Regions from separate parts of the Homo sapiens genome. Here region 2 is linked to region 1. Evidence: promoter capture Hi-C in 16 types of primary human blood cells and fetal thymus (Javierre and others, 2016). All regions are on one chromosome and are shown on one strand. The core of a region is centred on a gene start or on the middle of the fragment in contact, and the rest is flanking DNA. Distances in the headings are between cores, read along the strand shown.

What was found. Contacts are between HindIII fragments. The CHiCAGO score rates a contact against its expected background, and 5 or more counts as called.
Region 2: a contact is called between a fragment that was not itself captured here and the fragment with the promoter of P3R3URF in region 1, in 1 of 17 cell types (M1 macrophages). The highest score is 5.5, in M1 macrophages.

What each region holds. Positions count from the first base shown.
Region 1 is chr1:46,174,564-46,178,707 of GRCh38, forward strand. It overlaps P3R3URF (PIK3R3 upstream open reading frame), which reads right to left and starts at 1,925. Exons shown (of 2, transcript NM_001328655.2): 1 at 1,665-1,925; 2 at 923-1,066. The coding sequence starts at 1,908. The coding sequence ends at 1,023. It overlaps P3R3URF-PIK3R3 (P3R3URF-PIK3R3 readthrough), which reads right to left and starts at 1,925. Exons shown (of 10, transcript NM_001303427.2): 1 at 1,665-1,925. The coding sequence starts at 1,908. TSPAN1 (tetraspanin 1) reads left to right here and starts at 524. Exons shown (of 9, transcript NM_005727.4): 1 at 524-846. It also overlaps a transcript of PIK3R3 not described here. The HindIII fragment of the contact is 5,416 bases long and covers 996-4,144 here.
Region 2 is chr1:45,739,483-45,743,599 of GRCh38, forward strand. IPP (intracisternal A particle-promoted polypeptide) reads right to left here. Exons shown (of 9, transcript NM_005897.3): 3 at 1,419-1,850. Among named protein-coding and RNA genes, the nearest start is that of IPP, 9.1 kb to the right of the region's middle. The HindIII fragment of the contact is 9,851 bases long and covers 1-4,117 here.

The DNA.
Region 1 (4,144 bases), core at 675-3,174:
ATGCAGCCAGATCTCGGACCGGTGCAACACGTATTAGCCCATGCATGATGCAACATATTCGAGACAGAGTCCTACAAAATGTTCCCAGCGACTAAGACACAACCCCACAGAAACCCGGTTACAGCCAGTGACACATGAGCACACACTCAGAAATCCAAATGGAAAATCCCCAGGCCAGAGAGCTTAGCACCCTCCCTACTTTCTGGGCTCAAACTCAGTCTTGCCCCACCCCTAAGCACCCCAGCTCAGCTGCCAGTTCTGGAAAACACTGACCTCAGAGAATGGTTGAAGGGCCGAAGGTAGTATGCCTTTCTCAGAATCTCACCCTTCTCCATGTTCTCCTCCTTTAGGCTGTTCCCCATCCCCCTCCTGACCTTCACTTTTCTTACCAGGGCTGATGTCCTCTCCGGCACACCCATACCCTCACAAACGCTCCTTGACACTCACAGTCAGTCACAGAGGCACATTAAATCACAAAGGCACATTCAGCCACATCTACTGATACTCCTATTCTCCCGGCCTCAGACACACACACCAGCAGCTACACCTACACGCTGACCATCACAGGCACACAGAGGCACATCCACCTCACATCCACCTCATACTTGTGTACTCTCAGGGTTCAGTCTTTCATCCTATCCCTCTCTGATCTGTGCCTCCCAATACCTTCCAAGATGTTTACAGAGACCCTTCTCCCTGTGCAGTTAGGAGTGTAAGGCAAGAGAGCCCCTACTTCATGGGGCAGATCAAGAGCTGAGACCAAAGATGGTCTATGTTGCTGACCTTGTCCTGTCCTCCTGCTGTCTTAAACTATGATCCCTGCTGCGGTCACTGAAGCCTTTCCCTGTAAGTATTCAGCCATAACCCTCCCCTCACGCCCTGCATAGTCAGCTGGTTAACACCTCTGTGTGGAATAAGGCAGTTTGAGCAGAATGACTGTATTTGTTGTTCACCACCCACACGGCCCCTAGGAGATGCAGGTCCAGGGCAAACCAAGCTTCTGGGCTAGCTTCTGGGCACTTCTAGAGGATCAGAAAAATCCCAGGTTGCCTGAGATGTCTGAGAACTGAGGAGAGGAAGGAGAGGGAAGAGTTTGAGGAAGGAAGCAGTTCTGGAAGTTCCCTGCCTCTTGGATTCAGCCCCTCCCCAAACCCTCTGCTTCCAGCCAATCCATCCTCCATTAAGGCTGTCAGCACTTTGGGGTGCCTGCCATCAGGAGTCCCCCATATATGTAGGGGTGCTATTTCACAGAGATCATCCTTTGGCGTGCCTAAACAGAACCAGGTAGGGAAATCTTCACTGGCTCTGGTTTTTTTTTTTTTTTCTTGAGACAGAGTCTAGCTCTGTCACCCAGGCTGGAGTGCAGTGGCGCGATCTTGGCTCACTGCAACCTCTGCCTCCCGGGTTCAAGCAATTCTCCTGCCTCAGCCTCCCAAGTAGCTGGGACTAAAGGCGTGTGCCACCACGCCCGGCTAATTTTTTTTTGTATTTTTAGTAGAGATGGGATTTCACCGTGTTAGCCAGGATGGTCTCGATCTCCTGACCTTGTGATCTGCCCGCCTTGGCCTCCCAAAGTGCCGGGATTACAGGCATGAGCCACCGCACCCAGCCTAGTGGCTCTGTTTTTTAAAACCCCACCCTGGCTCACAGGCCCCCTGGCTAACCTTGAGGTGGGAAGATCCACACTATGGTGGTGTCAGTGTGGGTGTTGTTGATACCCATGGCCCTGGTGGCAGGATTGATGGCTGCACTGCTGGCAGTTCGACCTCGGAGACCCTGTTGATATCTTCTGCGGCTACACTTGAACATCCTGGGAAATCGGGGCCTGGGCCAGCCCATACCTGGCCTGCGGTAGGGGGAACGCATGCCCTGGGGCCGAGGGCCACGGACAAGCCGAGATGGCCCCATGGGCACAGGGAGCTTCTGCAGTGTGCCTGGGGGGTGCTGTTGGCCAGGGTAGCTGAGGCCTCTATGACATACAAAGTCTGCATAAGGGCAGGGCCCTTTATTACAAGTCGTGGGCCCTGGCCCCTCCTCATGGGTCAGGCTCCTTCACAATCTTCTTTATTGGGTCTGGCCTAAAAGCCAGCCCAAGAGCCAGACAGCCTCAGTTTGGCCCCTTGGGAAAAGAGGCCCTAGAGGCGGAACTCACTTCCTCACTTTCTCACTTATCCATATAGTAACAATATTAACAATGTTTTTTGAGCACTTACTACGTGCCAGACACTGTGCTGAGCACTTTACCAACGTTATCTCATTTAATCTCAGCTACTTTACAAGGATATGCCATCATTATACCTATTTATATACAGTCAATTCTCATTATTCCCAGTAATGTTCTATAAAGTCGCCACAAACACTAAATACTGAACAAAGGGTAAATGCAAGGTTAGGTTCCTGAAACCCTCTGGTCACAATATTTTTGTCAACTGATCTATACATATAACCTGATTTTATGTGTGGAGACACCTTATTTAATATATATTGTTGGCCAGGCATGGTGGCTCAAGCCTGTAATCCCAGCACTTTGGGAGGCCGAGGTGGGCAGATCACCTGAGGTCAGGAGTTCAAGACTAGCCTGGTTAACATGGCAAAACCCCATCTCTACTAAAAATACAAAAATTAGCTGGGTGTGGTGGTGGGTGCCTGTAGTCCCAGCTACTCAGGAGGCTGAGACAGGAGAATAGCTTGAACCCAGGAGGTGGAGATTGCAGTGAGCCCAGATTGCACCATTGCACTCCAGCCTGGGCAACAAGAGTGAAACTCTGTCTCAAAAAAAAAAAAAATATATCTATCTATCTATCTATCTATCTATCTAACTATCTATCTATATTTGAGTCATTGACATTGAACTCACAGCCAACAGCATTATAACTTGTGCCTGAATGAAACTTATCTAAAGCACATATTTCCCCTATAAGGCACATCACAGCCTTCTTGCACTTAGAAAGACTAGAGAGCACTTCAGCACTACAACTGGGGACCATTTTAGACAGTAAAATCACCAGCAAAAAACACCAAAAAATGTGAGAATATGCGTCACTAAATAGACCACCAAAAAGCACATTTGTTTACTCTATGAAAACTGAAATAAGAAGACAGAGAGTCCTCTTGCTCAACAGACCTCAGCTGGAAATACGTGTGTTGGACGGCTGAAATTTTTTGCCTTTCTGCTCATGTCCATGAATGACTGCAAAAGTACCACAAGTACTGGTTTGGGAATTACAAATAAATTTCAGTAAGCAGGCAAATTCACAGGTATGGAATCTGTGAATAAGGAGGATCCACTGTATAAGGAAACTGGGGCTCAGTGAGGTGAAGTCACACAATTAGAGGCAGGCAGGAAGCAAATCCATGATGATCAAGATCCAAAACCCAGAGCACTTAACTCTCATTATTCTGCACTCATTCACTCAGGAAATGTTCACTGACAACTTCTTATGTGCCAAGCACCAGGGCCATAGATGAATGTAATCTGGTCCCAATTCTTCCTGAGAATGAAACAGAAAGGTTCCAGGTGCGGTGGCTCACGCCTGTAATCCCAGCACTTTGGGAGCCCGAGGTGGGTGGATGACTTGAGGTCAGGAGCTCGAGAGCAGCCTGGTCAACATGGTGAAACCCTGTCTCTACTAAAAATACAAAAATTAGCTGGGTGTGGTGGTGTGCACCTATAATACCAGCTACTCAGGAGGCTGAGGCAGGAGAATCGCTTGAAACTGGGAGGCGGAGGTTGCAGTGAGCCAAGATTGCGCCACTGCATTCCAGCCTGGGCAACAGAGTGAGATTCTGTCAAAAAAAAAAAAAATAGACCTTCTCCTTCTCCTTCCACTCCTCAGTCCCTTCTTCCTTTCCCCCTTACTCTGCTCCTCAAATGCCCCCTTCCCAACTTCATCCTCCTTTCTGTTTGTGGAGGACTCTGTGGCACCCTTAGTACCACCCTCACAAACCTCATCTTTCCCCCATCCCCTCCTCCAGCCTCTACTCTTGCCATCCTCAGTCTTAAAATATGACCTTGCTTCCACCAACTTCTAGCAACTGTAACTATAAACCGACCTGCCCCTGCTCCTCCTCTTCCTCAGGTCAGACCAAGGCCTCTTCCCTTGCTCTTTATGGAAGCCAGCCTTGTCTGCCTCTTTAGAGATTC
Region 2 (4,117 bases), core at 1,372-3,871, 430 kb before region 1:
GTGCTAAAGCGATCTGCCTGCCTTGGCCTGCTAAAGTGCCAGAATTATAGGCGTGAACCATTGCACCTGGCCTAAAGTAATTCTTAGAAATAAATTTAAACATCATTTTTCTAATATAAACATAAAAACTATTTTATACTATGGTAAAACATATTTTCAGAATTAAGTTTAGAATCTAAAGATGATTCAAAGGCTACTCAGAGGCCATAATTGTATATCAATACCAAATTTATTTTATAATGAAAGGATTTACAGGATTCATTGAATTTTTTTATTTTTAGTGTATGCATTTTCTCCAAGTGTTAGGTTTTGCTTAATTTTTCAGAGTAGCAAGAGGAAATCTTTTTTTTTTTTTTTTTAATTGATCATTCTTGGGTGTTTCTCGTAGAGGGGGATTTGGCAGGGTCATAGGACAATAGTGGAGGGAAGGTCAGCAGATAAACAAGTGAACAAAGGTCTCTGGTTTTCTAGGCAGAGGACCCTGCGGCCTTCCGCAGTGTTTGTGTCCCTGGGTACTTGAGATTAGGGAGTGGTGATGACTCTTAACGAGCATGCTGCCTTCAAGCATCTGTTTAACAAAGCACATCTTGCACCGCCCTTAATCCATTTAACCCTGAGTGGACACAGCCCATTTTTCAGAGAGCACAGGGTTGGGGGTAAGGTCATAGATCAACAGGATCCCAAGGCAGAAGAATTTTTCTTAGCACAGAACAAAATGAAAAGTCTCCCATGTCTACCTCTTTCTACACAGACACAGCAACCATCCGATTTCTCAATCTTTTCCCCACCTTTCCCCCTTTTCTATTCCACAAAACCGCCATTGTCATCATGGCCCGTTCTCAATGAGCTGTTGGGTACACCTCCCAGACAGGGTGGTGGCTGGGCAGAGGGGCTCCTCACTTCCCAGTAGGGGCGGCCGGGCAGAGGCGCCCCTCACCTCCCGGACGGGGCGGCTGGCCGGGCGGGGGGCTGAACCCCCCATCTCCCTCCCGAACGGGGCGGCTGGCCGGGCGGGGGGCTGACCCCCCCACCTCCCTCCCAGACAGGGCGGCTGGCCGGGCGGGGGGCTGACCCCCCCTAGGAAATCTTAACTGAAATAATTGGTTCTGTCAACAGCAGTGGTATGTTAGTAGCTCTGTCAGTAATTTTTATCTATAACACTAATCTGCCTTAGTAATCAATCTCAAGAAAGATTTTGATAAAAATAGTGGGTAGAAATATTAAAATACTACTGCCCACCCACAGAACACAAAAGTTGTATCTTAATCATTCAATACATTTTAAAAAAAGAAAAAAAAAGAGTAATCATTCAATAAATGTCTGTTACTGAACCAAAAAATGAAAACACTCTCCCACATTTCAGAGAACACATCACTGGATAATTAATCAACTAATTCGATATATAGCAAAAAAGTTACCTTCTATATACTTTAAAAGTCTCTGAGGAGGTAATAAAGGGAATCGAATTGGGTCTAGCACTTCCACCACATGTTTTCTTCTTTTTCCCAAATCTTTCAGAATCCATTGCATTGCAGCTAAGAAGACCTGGTATTCATCCTCAATGCTAAGCTCTTCACTTCGCAAAATTTTGATCAGCTGATCTTTCGTAAGTGCCAGGAACTCTTCTCCACTATGAACCTCCAAGAAATGGACATGAATGTAGTTTTCTGAGAATTCCAAGAGATCATGGCAGGCAATTTGCTCAGAGAACTGAAAAATTCCAATGCAGTTCAGTGGATCAATTTGTCCTTTCAGAAATTCACAGCAAAGATGAACAACTTCAGTCAACTGTAGCATGTCTGCTGCAATAATCAACTCCTGGACATTATTCACACCTATGTTCACTATACCTAGAGAAGTAGGAAGACAAAATGGCCAATAAAATAAAAACAAACATTGGCTTACCATATTCAAAAAGTATTATACTTGATTTCACTGATAGTTTGATGCCTGCAGAGTAGACAGACACTAAAAAAGGCAATCAAGGATTTGAGTAAAGAGCACAAAATTTAAACGATAACGATACCTAACACATTTATGAAAAACTTACAATGAACCAGGTGCAGTATTAATTGCTTTATATGCTAATTTAACCCTTATTATAATCCCATGTGGTAGATATTATTATTTTTCTTATTTTCTTTTTTTTTTTTTTTTTTTTTTTGAGACGGAGTCCCGCTCTTTAGCCCAGGCCGGATTGCAGTGGCACAATCTTGGCTCACTGCAAGCTCCGCCTCCCAGGTTCACGCCATTCTCCTGCCTCAGCCTCCCGAGTAGCTGGGACTACAGGCGCCCGCCACTGCGCCCGGCTAATTTTTTGTATTTTTAGTAGAGACGGGGTTTCACCGTGTTAGCCAAGATGGTCTCGATCTCCTGACCTTGTGATCCGCCCGCCTCGGCCTCCCAAAGTGCTGGGATTACAGGCGTGAGCCACCGCGCCCAGCCTTATTTTCATATTAAAGAAACAGAATCAAAGTTTAAGTCACTTGTCCACAAGTTGCATGGTAAAGCAAGTTGCAAGGTAGGGGTTGACATCAAAGTCCATGCTTTTGCCATAAAAAAGAAGGAAATCATGTGCTTTACAGCAACACAGATGGAGCTGGAGGCCATGATTCTAAGCAAATTAACACAAGTACAGAAAACCAAATATCATATGTTCTCACTCATAAATGGGAGCTAAACATTGCATACACGTGGACACCAAGAAGACATGGATACACATTCGGGCCTACTTGAGAGTGGAGGGTAGGAGGAGGGTAAAGATTGAAAAACTACCTATCAGGTATTATACTGATTAACTGGGGGACAAAATTATCTACATACCAAGCCCCCAAGACACACAATTTACCCATGGAACAAACCCGCATATGTACCTCTTGAACCTAAAAGTTGGAAAGAAAAAAAACAAACAACAACAGCAACAACAACAAATAAAGTCTATGCTTTTAACATAAGGTTATATGCATGTAACAGACATTTACTGAGGCACTGGGGAGAGTAAGACAAGGTCTCTATCTTCAATTATGATAAAACGCCACATAATGTTCATTTTTTGTTTGTGCTTGTTTTGAGACAGTGTCTCATTCTGTTGTCCAGGCTGGAGTGCAGTGGCGCAATCTTGGCCCACTGCAACCTCTGCCTCCCACGCTCAGGTGAGCCTCCCACCTCAACCTCCCGAGTAGCTGGTACTACAGACACTCACCACCATGATCGGCTAATTTTCTGTGGTTTTTTTTTTAGAGACAGGGTTTTGCCGCATTGCCCAGGCTGATCTCAAACTCCTGGGCTCAAGCAATCCACCCACCTCAGCCTCCCAAAGTGCAGGGATTATACACAATGCTAGTTTTTAATATTAGGAATAACCAATAATCTATAACATAAGAGAAACTATTAAATACTTAACTACGTATACCACTTTCTTTTCCAAGGGCTTCACTTTCTTTTTTTTATTTTTTTATTTTTTTATTTTTTTCGAGACAGAGTCTCACTATGTCACCCAGGTTGGAGTATAGTGGTGCATCCTCGGCCCACTACAACCAACACCTCCTGGGTTCAAGTGATTTTCCTGCCTCAGCCTCCTAAGTAGCCAGGATTACAGATGCGCACCACCATAACCAGCTAATTTTTGTATTTTCAGTAGGGACGAGGTTTCACCATGTTGGTCAGGCTGGTCTCGAACTCCTGGCCTCAGGTGATCCACCCACCTCAGCCTCCCAAAGTGCTGGGATTACAGGCGTGAGCCACCACACCCATCTTTTTTTTTTTTTTTTTCTGAGACAGGCTCTTGCTCTGTTGCCCAGGCTAGAGTACAGTGGCATGGTCTCTGCTCACTGCAACCTCTGCCTCCCAGGTTCAAGCAATTCTCCTGGCTCAGCCTCCTGAGTAGCTGGGACTACAGGTGTGCGCCACTAAGCCCAGCAAGACTCCGCCTCAAAAAAAAAAAAATTAGCCAGGTGTGGTAGCATGTGCGCCTGTAGTCTCAGCTACTAGGGAGGCTGAGGTGGGAGGATTGCTTGAGCCTAGGAGTTTGAGACCAGTCTGGGCAACATAGCTAGACATAATCTCTACAAAAAAAATTTAAAAATTAGCCAGGCATGGTGGTGTGTGTTGTGGTCCT